3 separate regions of the Homo sapiens genome follow, and all the other regions are linked to region 1. Evidence: promoter capture Hi-C in human tissues and cell types (Jung and others, 2019). All regions are on one chromosome and are shown on one strand. The core of a region is centred on a gene start or on the middle of the fragment in contact, and the rest is flanking DNA. Distances in the headings are between cores, read along the strand shown.

Evidence for each region. The method cuts DNA at HindIII sites, captures the fragments that hold promoters and counts their contacts. A contact is called where the count stands out against the background at its distance.
Region 2: a fragment that was not itself captured here is called in contact with the fragment with the promoter of PLCD3 in region 1 in 1 of the 25 tissues and cell types used here (lymphoblastoid cells).
Region 3: a fragment that was not itself captured here is called in contact with the fragment with the promoter of PLCD3 in region 1 in 1 of the 25 tissues and cell types used here (aorta).

Annotation. Positions count from the first base shown.
Region 1 is chr17:45,131,076-45,133,870 of GRCh38, reverse strand. It overlaps PLCD3 (phospholipase C delta 3), which reads left to right and starts at 1,356. Exons shown (of 15, transcript NM_133373.5): 1 at 1,356-1,623. The coding sequence starts at 1,461. It also overlaps a transcript of ACBD4 not described here. RefSeq lists an enhancer at 563-632 and silencers at 1,103-1,322, 1,423-1,552. The HindIII fragment of the contact is 27,952 bases long and covers 1-2,795 here.
Region 2 is chr17:44,751,901-44,754,695 of GRCh38, reverse strand. It overlaps DBF4B (DBF4B-CDC7 kinase regulatory subunit), which reads right to left. Exons shown (of 14, transcript NM_145663.3): 14 at 2,432-2,795. Among named protein-coding and RNA genes, the nearest start is that of ADAM11, 5.7 kb to the left of the region's middle. RefSeq lists an enhancer at 1,136-1,636. The HindIII fragment of the contact is 3,429 bases long and covers 1-2,795 here.
Region 3 is chr17:44,816,155-44,818,949 of GRCh38, reverse strand. The region is part of intron 1 of GJC1 (gap junction protein gamma 1); the gene reads left to right. Among named protein-coding and RNA genes, the nearest start is that of GJC1, 13 kb to the left of the region's middle. The HindIII fragment of the contact is 9,186 bases long and covers 1-2,795 here.

The sequences.
Region 1 (2,795 bases), core at 107-2,606:
AAGCACAAAGGCGAATACGATAATCAAGAAGAAAATTCAGGGCCGGGCGCGGTGGCTCACGCCTGTAATCCCAGCACTTTGGGAGGCCGAGGCGGGCGGATCACGAGGTCAGGAGATCGAGACCATCCCGGCTAAAACGGTGAAACCCCGTCTCTACTAAAAATACAAAAAATTAGCCGGGCGTAGTGGCGGGCGCCTGTAGTCCCAGCTACTTGGGAGGCTGAGGCAGGAGAATGGCGTGAACCCGGGAGGCGGAGCTTGCAGTGAGCCGAGATCCCGCCACTGCACTCCAGCCTGGGCGACGGAGCGAGACTCCGTCTCAAAAAAAAAAAAAAAAAAAAAAAAAAAAAGAAAATTCAGGACCCCAGAGTGGCGTAGGGACCCAAGCCAGTGTGCAGAATCTCTGGGCCTGGGAGATCTGAGGATGGGGTAGAGCAGGGCAAGTAGGTGGCAAATCAGGCCCTGAGCACTAGCCTCTCTGTAGGATGCCACGCCGCTGGCCGCCGCAAAGTGGCGGTGTGCGCCCATGTCTCTGCCGGACCCAGGCCACCGGCCGCAGAAACGCTGCCACCTGGACGTCCCCCACTTCGCGCACGCACTCTGGTGCTTGCATATAAATAGTAAGTGCACACCCGACTCGGCCACCAGAACCTGCACACGGATGCCCACCCACGGGTTGACGTCGCGGACAACTACACCGCGGGTGCCGGGCTGGGGTGCCGGCCTGTCCAAGCCTCGAACCCAGAACCAGTTGCTGGGGACTCCAGGCTCGGCTCCGCCTCACGCTCCCCAGGTCCGTCAGCTCCGAGACTGTGGCTCTCCGAGGGGGCAGCACCTGGCCTGGCACAGGGAGGTTAATCCTATGACGTCACTGCCAACCTCCCCACCCCCATGCCCATCCCTTCGGGTTCGCGCTGCCCCGAGCGGCTCAGCTCCCGGGGTTCTGCCTTCGCTCCCGGCCCTGCGTCCTGTCCCGGCTCTGGTTCCCTGCTGAGGCCTGCGGCGCGACGGGGACGCGGAAGGGAAGGAGGAGGGGGTCCTGCGTCAGCCTCGAGTCAGGGCCCCCGGGAAGGAGAGGGTGTCTGTGCCAGAGGATGGCCCTCGTCCCCGGTGCCGGCTCCCACCCCCAGCCCCGCAGCATGGGGGCTCTAGTCACCCTTGCGGCCAAGATCAGAGGCTCGCCCGGACTAAGGGGAGACGGACTCACGAGCAGGGGCGAGCGCTGAGGCTCCGGGCTTCCAGGCCACCGCCTGGCCCCGCCCTCGCACCGCCCCGGCCCCGCCCCCTTCCCTTCCCGCCCCGCCCCGCCCCACCTCCTGCTGCCTCCTCCGACTCCCTCCCGCGCCGCTAAGTTTCTTCGCTCGCCGCCTCGCTCAGAGCCGGGGCCGGGCCAGAGCGGCGCCCCGCTGCCCTGTCCCCGCGTGCAGACCCCGGGCCCGGCCCCGGCCCCCCGCCAAGCCATGCTGTGCGGCCGCTGGAGGCGTTGCCGCCGCCCGCCCGAGGAGCCCCCGGTGGCCGCCCAGGTCGCAGCCCAAGTCGCGGCGCCGGTCGCTCTCCCGTCCCCGCCGACTCCCTCCGATGGCGGCACCAAGAGGCCCGGGCTGCGGGCGCTGAAGAAGATGGGTCAGTGACGGGCAAGGGGCGGTGGGGTGGGCGCGGACCGTTCCCAGAGGCCCAGTCTGGGGCGCTCCAGGGAGCAGTTCGTGGATTCCCCAGGCTGCACGGGGCTGGGAGGCTATGGCTAGGGGCGGAGGGCCAGCTCCCTCCAGCTGGGGGTCGCACCTGGGGTCATCCGAGGGTCCCGGGGCGAGCCGGGCGCCCAGGGTGTTCTTTGCTTCCCACCAGGGGGCGCTCGCGGGGCGTCTGAAGCGCGAATTCGGGCACGGGGCGCTGGTGGGGTCTCCAAGGAGAATGGAGCGGGAGAGGGAGGCTTGGGGTGTCCCTCGTCCGGCTCCCCAGCAGTATCTAGGTTCTGCCAGGGTGTCTCGGGGTCTTGGCAGCCCTTAGGAAGGATGCGAGTTTGCGGTCGGCCTCCGCAGAAGAGGCTGGCCTCCACAGCAGCCCTCCAAGCCGCGGCCCCACAGAGGCGGCCACAGCCACACTGCTCTGGCAGGACTGGTCTAACAGCCTACGTCCGACAGCCAAGGCTCTCACCTCAGATTTGGGGAAGTCAGTCGTGGAGAAGGAATGTAACTGTGGCTCATTGGAACATCACAGAGGCAGCTGGCACTGGGTGGGTTACACAGGTGGTGTCTTGCAATCTTCCTCGACTTCCTAGGTGGGAGGTGAATCCTCATTTCACAAGTGAGGAAACTGACTCAGAGACGGCAAGGAATTTGCCTATGACCACACAGCCAACAAAGGGCAAAGTGTGACTGGCACCCCGGTGGTGCCCCACCACATGGGCCCTGGTACCCTCTCAGAGTCTGGGAAAAGTGGGACCCGCAGGGCAGTGGAGGGCTTGAATGAGAGGGTGTGTGCGAGAATGTTGTCTGACGTGGAAAGGACCGCGCCACTGAAGTGCTGCGTTGGACCTGCCATTGGTAGAATAGTCAGTGATGGAGAGGCTAGGTGTGGAACTCCGGAACAGAAGGACAAGGCTGCCAGGGACCCCGTGTAGAACTTGGGGCAGAATTCAGGGGTCCTGATTGCCAGTTTTGCCTTCTTGTTACCTCGACTCATTCCACCTGAGCGCTGACTATGTCTGGGCGCTGTGCCTGGCACTCTGGTTACTGAGACATAGGACACCATCTCTACCCTGCCATCCATTCAACTGTGCATGCATTGGACAAGCA
Region 2 (2,795 bases), core at 116-2,615, 380 kb after region 1:
CAGCTACTCGGGAGGCTGAGGCAGGAGAATGGGGTGAACCTGGGAGGCAGAGCAGCCTCCCAAAGTGCTGGGATTACCAGGCATGAGGCCGATGCTTGGCTAACAAAATTTCTTTTTGTAGAGACGGGGGTCTTTTTATGTTGCCCAGGCCAGTCTCGAACTCTTGAACTCAAGTGATCCTCCAGCCTCAGCCTCCCAAAGTGCTGGGATTAGATTACATCTGTGAACCCTGGCACCCGGCCTCGGCTAGACCTCTTGCCTCTCCCTTGATCACAGTCCCCAGTCCCTGAGGTTCCACCTCCCCTGTCTCATGCTTGCCTCAGCTCTCTTAGGAGCTGTGGGATCCCCACACAGAAAGCTTGCTTCACGTTCTTTCACCCACCGTCCCTCCTGAGGTCAGGGCTGTCTGTTTTCTCATTGGTGGCCCTTCATCAGACTGGGACTTCAGAAGAGCAGGGCTTGTCCTCCTCATCAGACCTGACCCTGATAGCAAGGGCTGTTTTCTGCTTAGATCGGGGCAGGCCTGTGTCTCCCCCTCAAACATAGGGTTCCCTGGGGGGCCCCACCTCAACTTCATAGCTATGGCTGGCTCCTTCGGTCCATCCATTGAGGCTGGGGCCACTATTTCTGCTGCCCTGATGCCACTCTTGGGGTTGCTCTTGCTGAGGGAGCTGTGGGGCCCTGAGGGGTGGGTCTCTGGCCTCCCTTAGGAAGCCCCTTCCCTAGGAGGCCGGAGCCTCCTTCCTTCTGCTGCTCTTCTAGCTCTTTAGCCGGTTCTCTCAAATTTTCCTGCATAAGGGCCAAGTTGGGGATGCAGGGCCAAGACCTTGTCTCCGCAACTCCAGGTAAGGGAGAGGTCCTGGTTGCCCCCAGCCCTGGGGTGATACCACCGGCAGTGATTCCTGCCAGTGGAGGCCGTCCAGGCCTGGTGACCAGCCTTAAGTCCTGCAGCACAGACCATGCTAGTCAAGGGGGCAGGATTCAGGTCTCCAGGCTGGGGTCCCAATCCTGCCTCCCCCACAAACTGGCTGTGTGACCTTGAGCAAGCCCGCTGGCCTCTCTGGGCCTTGGTTTCCTCATCCACGACACAGGGGTTAGAAAACCACCCCCCTCACAGTGCTCCTCTCGGGGATGATGGCTGAGCTGCCCATGCTTGGAGCAGCGTCTGGCACATGAAAGGGGCTCAGTCACCCTGGGCTCGCACCGTCCAAGGCGCCGAGGAGCAAACCGGCTCCCTGGCCCTTGCCCAGGACCCCAGGCCTCTCTATGGCTTGGGGTCCTCGGGGTCCTCTCTCTACCCAGCACAGAGAGAACCTGTGCCTGATGTCGTGATGTGGAGGGGTGGCAGCAGGGGAAGTGCCTAGCATTTGGACAGGAAGTTCATCCTGCTTCCTCTTAGATGCCAGCCCAGGGTCCAAGGACCGTTCTTCTCATCTGCATAGCTCTCCCGGGAAACCTCATGCTCCTCCCTCTCAGGCGTCCAAGTGGCCCCTCTTTTAATCTCTGAAGCTCTCAGGCTTCACCAAGGGAGGAGTTGGGGGCACCTGGGGCACCAGGATCCCAGGCACACTCATCCTTTGGGAGGTCTGTGGGGCACAAATACAGTCACACCCATAAGGGCCCAAGTGCCACTTCTTTTCCACAAAAGGGATCCTCCTGGAGCTCAGGAGAGGGCCCTTGGGAGGGGGCCTGGGACAGGGGGTCTCACAGTGCCCCTCAGCAGCTTCATCCACAAATGCTCACCCGAGATGAGGACGCCAGTTACCAAGGGACACTGCCAGGTGGGAATTAGTGAGAATAAGCTTTATGTAAGTTTAGGAGGGAGGCCTCACAGGCATGTGTGCCTGTGGGTAATATGTTATTTGTTGAGACAATGTGCCAAGCTCTGTGCCACATACCTCACAAACACATCTGATTTCACTCTTGTGATTTCCTAGCGAGGTAGCAACTATGATTATCTCCATTTTTCGTATTTATTTATTTATTTATTTATTTTCGAGACAGTCTCGCCCTGTTGCCCAGGCTGGAGTGCAGTGGCACAATCTCGGCTCACTGCAACCTCTGCCTCCCAGGTTCAAGTGATTCTCCTGCCTCAGCCTCCCGAGTAGCTGGGATTACAGGCATGCCAGCATGCCCGGCTAACTTTTGTATTTTTAGTAGAGATGGGGTTTCACTATGTTGGCCAGGCTGGTCTCGAACTCCTGACCTCAAATGATCCGCCCGCCTCAGCCTCCCAAAGTGCAGGGATTACAGGCGTGAGCCACCGTGCCCAGCCTAGATTACCTCCATTTTTTAGATCAAGAAAACAGTTTGAGCTGGGCACAGCTGAAACTCCCCTGGGAAGGGGAGCCAAGATCCAGGATGAGAAGGAGTGCTCGGGTATACAGCACTCCTGCTGGTGGCAGGATAGGGAAAGACATAAAAGATTTGCTGGCAGTCACAGTATTTTATTATTGGAAAGGGTCCTGAAATCATCTCATCCAAGCCCCTTACTTAAAGACGAGGAAACTGAGGCCCGAGTAATAAAGGCATTTTTCTGAGGTCACAGTGAGTTGGAGGCAGCTAGCTCCTGCATTCCACCCAGCAGAAGGGAGTTGGGGTGGAGCTACCAATCGGTCACATCTGCCGAGAAGTGAAAGGCTCAGCGAGAAGAGGCAAGAACAAAGGCCTGGGGACCTAGTCTGAGTAAAGTAGTTAGGGCTGGAGGGCTCTTCAGGTGTCTCGGAGCTGACTCAGGGCAGACGGCAAGGCCTGTGCTGAATGAACGAACGAGGGAATGGGCAATGGTGAGGAAG
Region 3 (2,795 bases), core at 189-2,688, 320 kb after region 1:
TTTAAATAGAGACGGGGTCTCGCCATGTTGTCTAGGATGGTCTTGAACTCCTGAGCTGAAGTGTTCTGCCCATCTCAGCCTCCCAAAGTGCTGGTATTACAGGAGTCAGCCACCACGCCCAGCCAGCTTCTTCCCGCCCCACACCCCCAGATGGAGTTTTGCTCTTTTGCTCTCTTGCCCAGGCTGGAGTGCAGTGGTACAATCTCGGCTCACTGCAACCTCTGCCTTCCGGGTTGAAGCAATTCTCCTGCCTCAGCCTCCTGAGTAGCTGGGATTACAGTAGCCCAGGCCTGGCTAATTTTTGTATTTTTAGTAGAGACTGGGTTTCACCATGTTGGCCAGGCTGGTCTTGAACTGACCTTGGGATCCGCCCGCCTCAGCCTCCCAAAGTGCTAGGATTACAGATGTGAGCCACCATGCCTGGCCTTTTTTTTTTTTTTTAACATGAGACTATTAGAGACTTTTCCAAAGATATATGTGGAAGTGATTTCTTGGGTTAATAGTTGTTTTGTGGTCTCCCTATTCTCAATGCCCAAATAAATTGTCCTCCTTAAATAAATAAATCATTTTTGTCAAAGATACCGTTTATTCCTTCCTCCCCAGCTACCAAGAAAGCTTGTTCTGTTTTATTTTACTTTTAAACTTTCATTCCATTTTACATTTTAAGATCTTAAACTCTGAAATGTATTTTCTTTCTGGTGTTTGTGCATTTTTTTGTTTGTTTGTTTGTTTTTTTGAGACAGAGTTTCGCTCTTGTCGCCCAGGCTGGAGTGCAATGGCGCAATCTCAGCTCACTGCAACCTCTGCCTCCTGGGTTCAAGTGATTCTCCAGTCTCAGCCTCCCGAGTAGCTGGGATTACAGGTGCCCACCACCACGCCTGGCTAATTTTTCTATTTTTAGTAGAGATGGGGTTTCACCATGGTGGCCAGGCTGGTCTCAAACTCCTGATTTTAGCTGATCCGCCCACCTCGGCCTCCCAAAGTGCTGGGATTACAGGCATGAGCCACCGCGCCTGGCCTTGTGCTTTTTCTTTTGTTGTTCTGATCCTGAAGATTGGGATTAGGGTCACATAGAACCTGTACATAATTCCATTGGTAATGTAATTCTTTACTAGCGAGTGGTCAAGAAAGAGCCCAAACTCCAGTGCAAGACTGCCTGACTTCAAATTCTGGCTTTGCTACTTAATAAGTAGATGATTTTAGGCAAATAATAAAGTTTTTTGGTTTTTGGGTTTTTTTGAGATGGAGTTTCACTCTTGTTGCCCAGGCTGGAGTGCAATGGCACAATCTCAGCTCACCACAACCTCCCCCTCCTGAGTTCAAGCGATTCTCCTGCCTCAGCCTCCTGAGTAACTAGGATTACAGGCATGCACCATCACGCCTGGCTAATATTGTATTTTTAGTAGAGACAGGGTTTCTCCATCTTGGTCAGGCTGGTCTCGAACTCCTGACTTCAGGTGATCCGCCCGCCTCAGCCTCCCAAAGTGCTGGGATTACAGGCATGAGCCACCGTGCCTGGCCTTGTGCTTTTCTTTTGCAGTTCTGATCCTAAAGACTGGGATTAGGGTCACATAGAACCTGTACATAATTCCATCTGTAATGTAATTCTTTACTAGCGAGTGGTCAAGAAAGAGTCCAAACTCTAGTGCAAGACTGCCTGACTTCAAATTCTGGCTTCACTACTTAATAAGTAGATGATTTTAGGCAAATAATAAAGTTATTTGTTTTTTGTGGGTTTTTTTTGAGACAGACTTTTGCTCTTGTTGCCCAGGCTGGAGTGCAATGGCACGATCTCAGCTCACTGCAACCACCGCCTCCTGGGTTCAAGCAATTCTGTCTCAGCCTCCTGAGTAGCTGGGATTACAGGCATGCACCACCACGCCTGGCTAATTTTGTATTTTTAGTAGAGGCAGGTTTCTCCATCTTGGTCAGGCTGGTCTCGAACTCCTGACTTCAGGTGATCCGCCCGCCTTGGCCTCCCAAAGTGCTGGGATTACAGACGTGAACCACTGCGCCTGGCAGGCAAATTATAAATTTTTAAACCTGATTTCCTCATCTTTAAAATGAGTTTAATATTAGAATCTACCTGCTGAAATAATTCAAATAATGTTCATTACATTTGATCTTCAAAAATCCTATTAATTCGGCTGGGCGCGGTAGCTCACACCTGTAATCCCAGCACGTTGGGAGGCCGAGGCAGAGGGATCAGTTAAGTCAGGAGTTCGAGACCAGCCTGGATAACAAGGTGAAACCTCATCTCTACTAAAAATAGAAAAATTAGCCAGGCCTGGTGGCGAGTGCCTGTAATCCCAGCTACTCGAGAAGCTGACTGAGGCAGGAGAATTGCTTGAACCCCGGAGGCAGAGGTTGCAGTGAGCTGAGACTTCGCCATTGCACTCCAGCCTGGGCGACAGAGCGACACTCTGTCTCAGAAAACCAAAAACAAAACAAAACAAACTGAATTATGTTTTACAGAAAAACAGTGTTAATTTGAGTCTGTTTGGATATAACCTATAGAAAACTCTTGAGATAAGAATTTGAGAGAGAATTACATAATTTATTACCATGTTGATGCCAGCTAATTTTTTTAAATTCTGTTTTCTAGTGTAAGACAAGGTAGATTTGTGTCTAAGTTATTTGGAAAATAGACTAAAAATAGCACATTTGGTTTCTGTCTAATAAATGTTATATAAGCAAACTTGATTTTCTTCAGTATTTGGGTTTTCTTTGTGTGAGTGAATCCTTTTGAATTATGGGCTACCATGAATTGCAGTATCTTTTAAAATAGAAGCCGT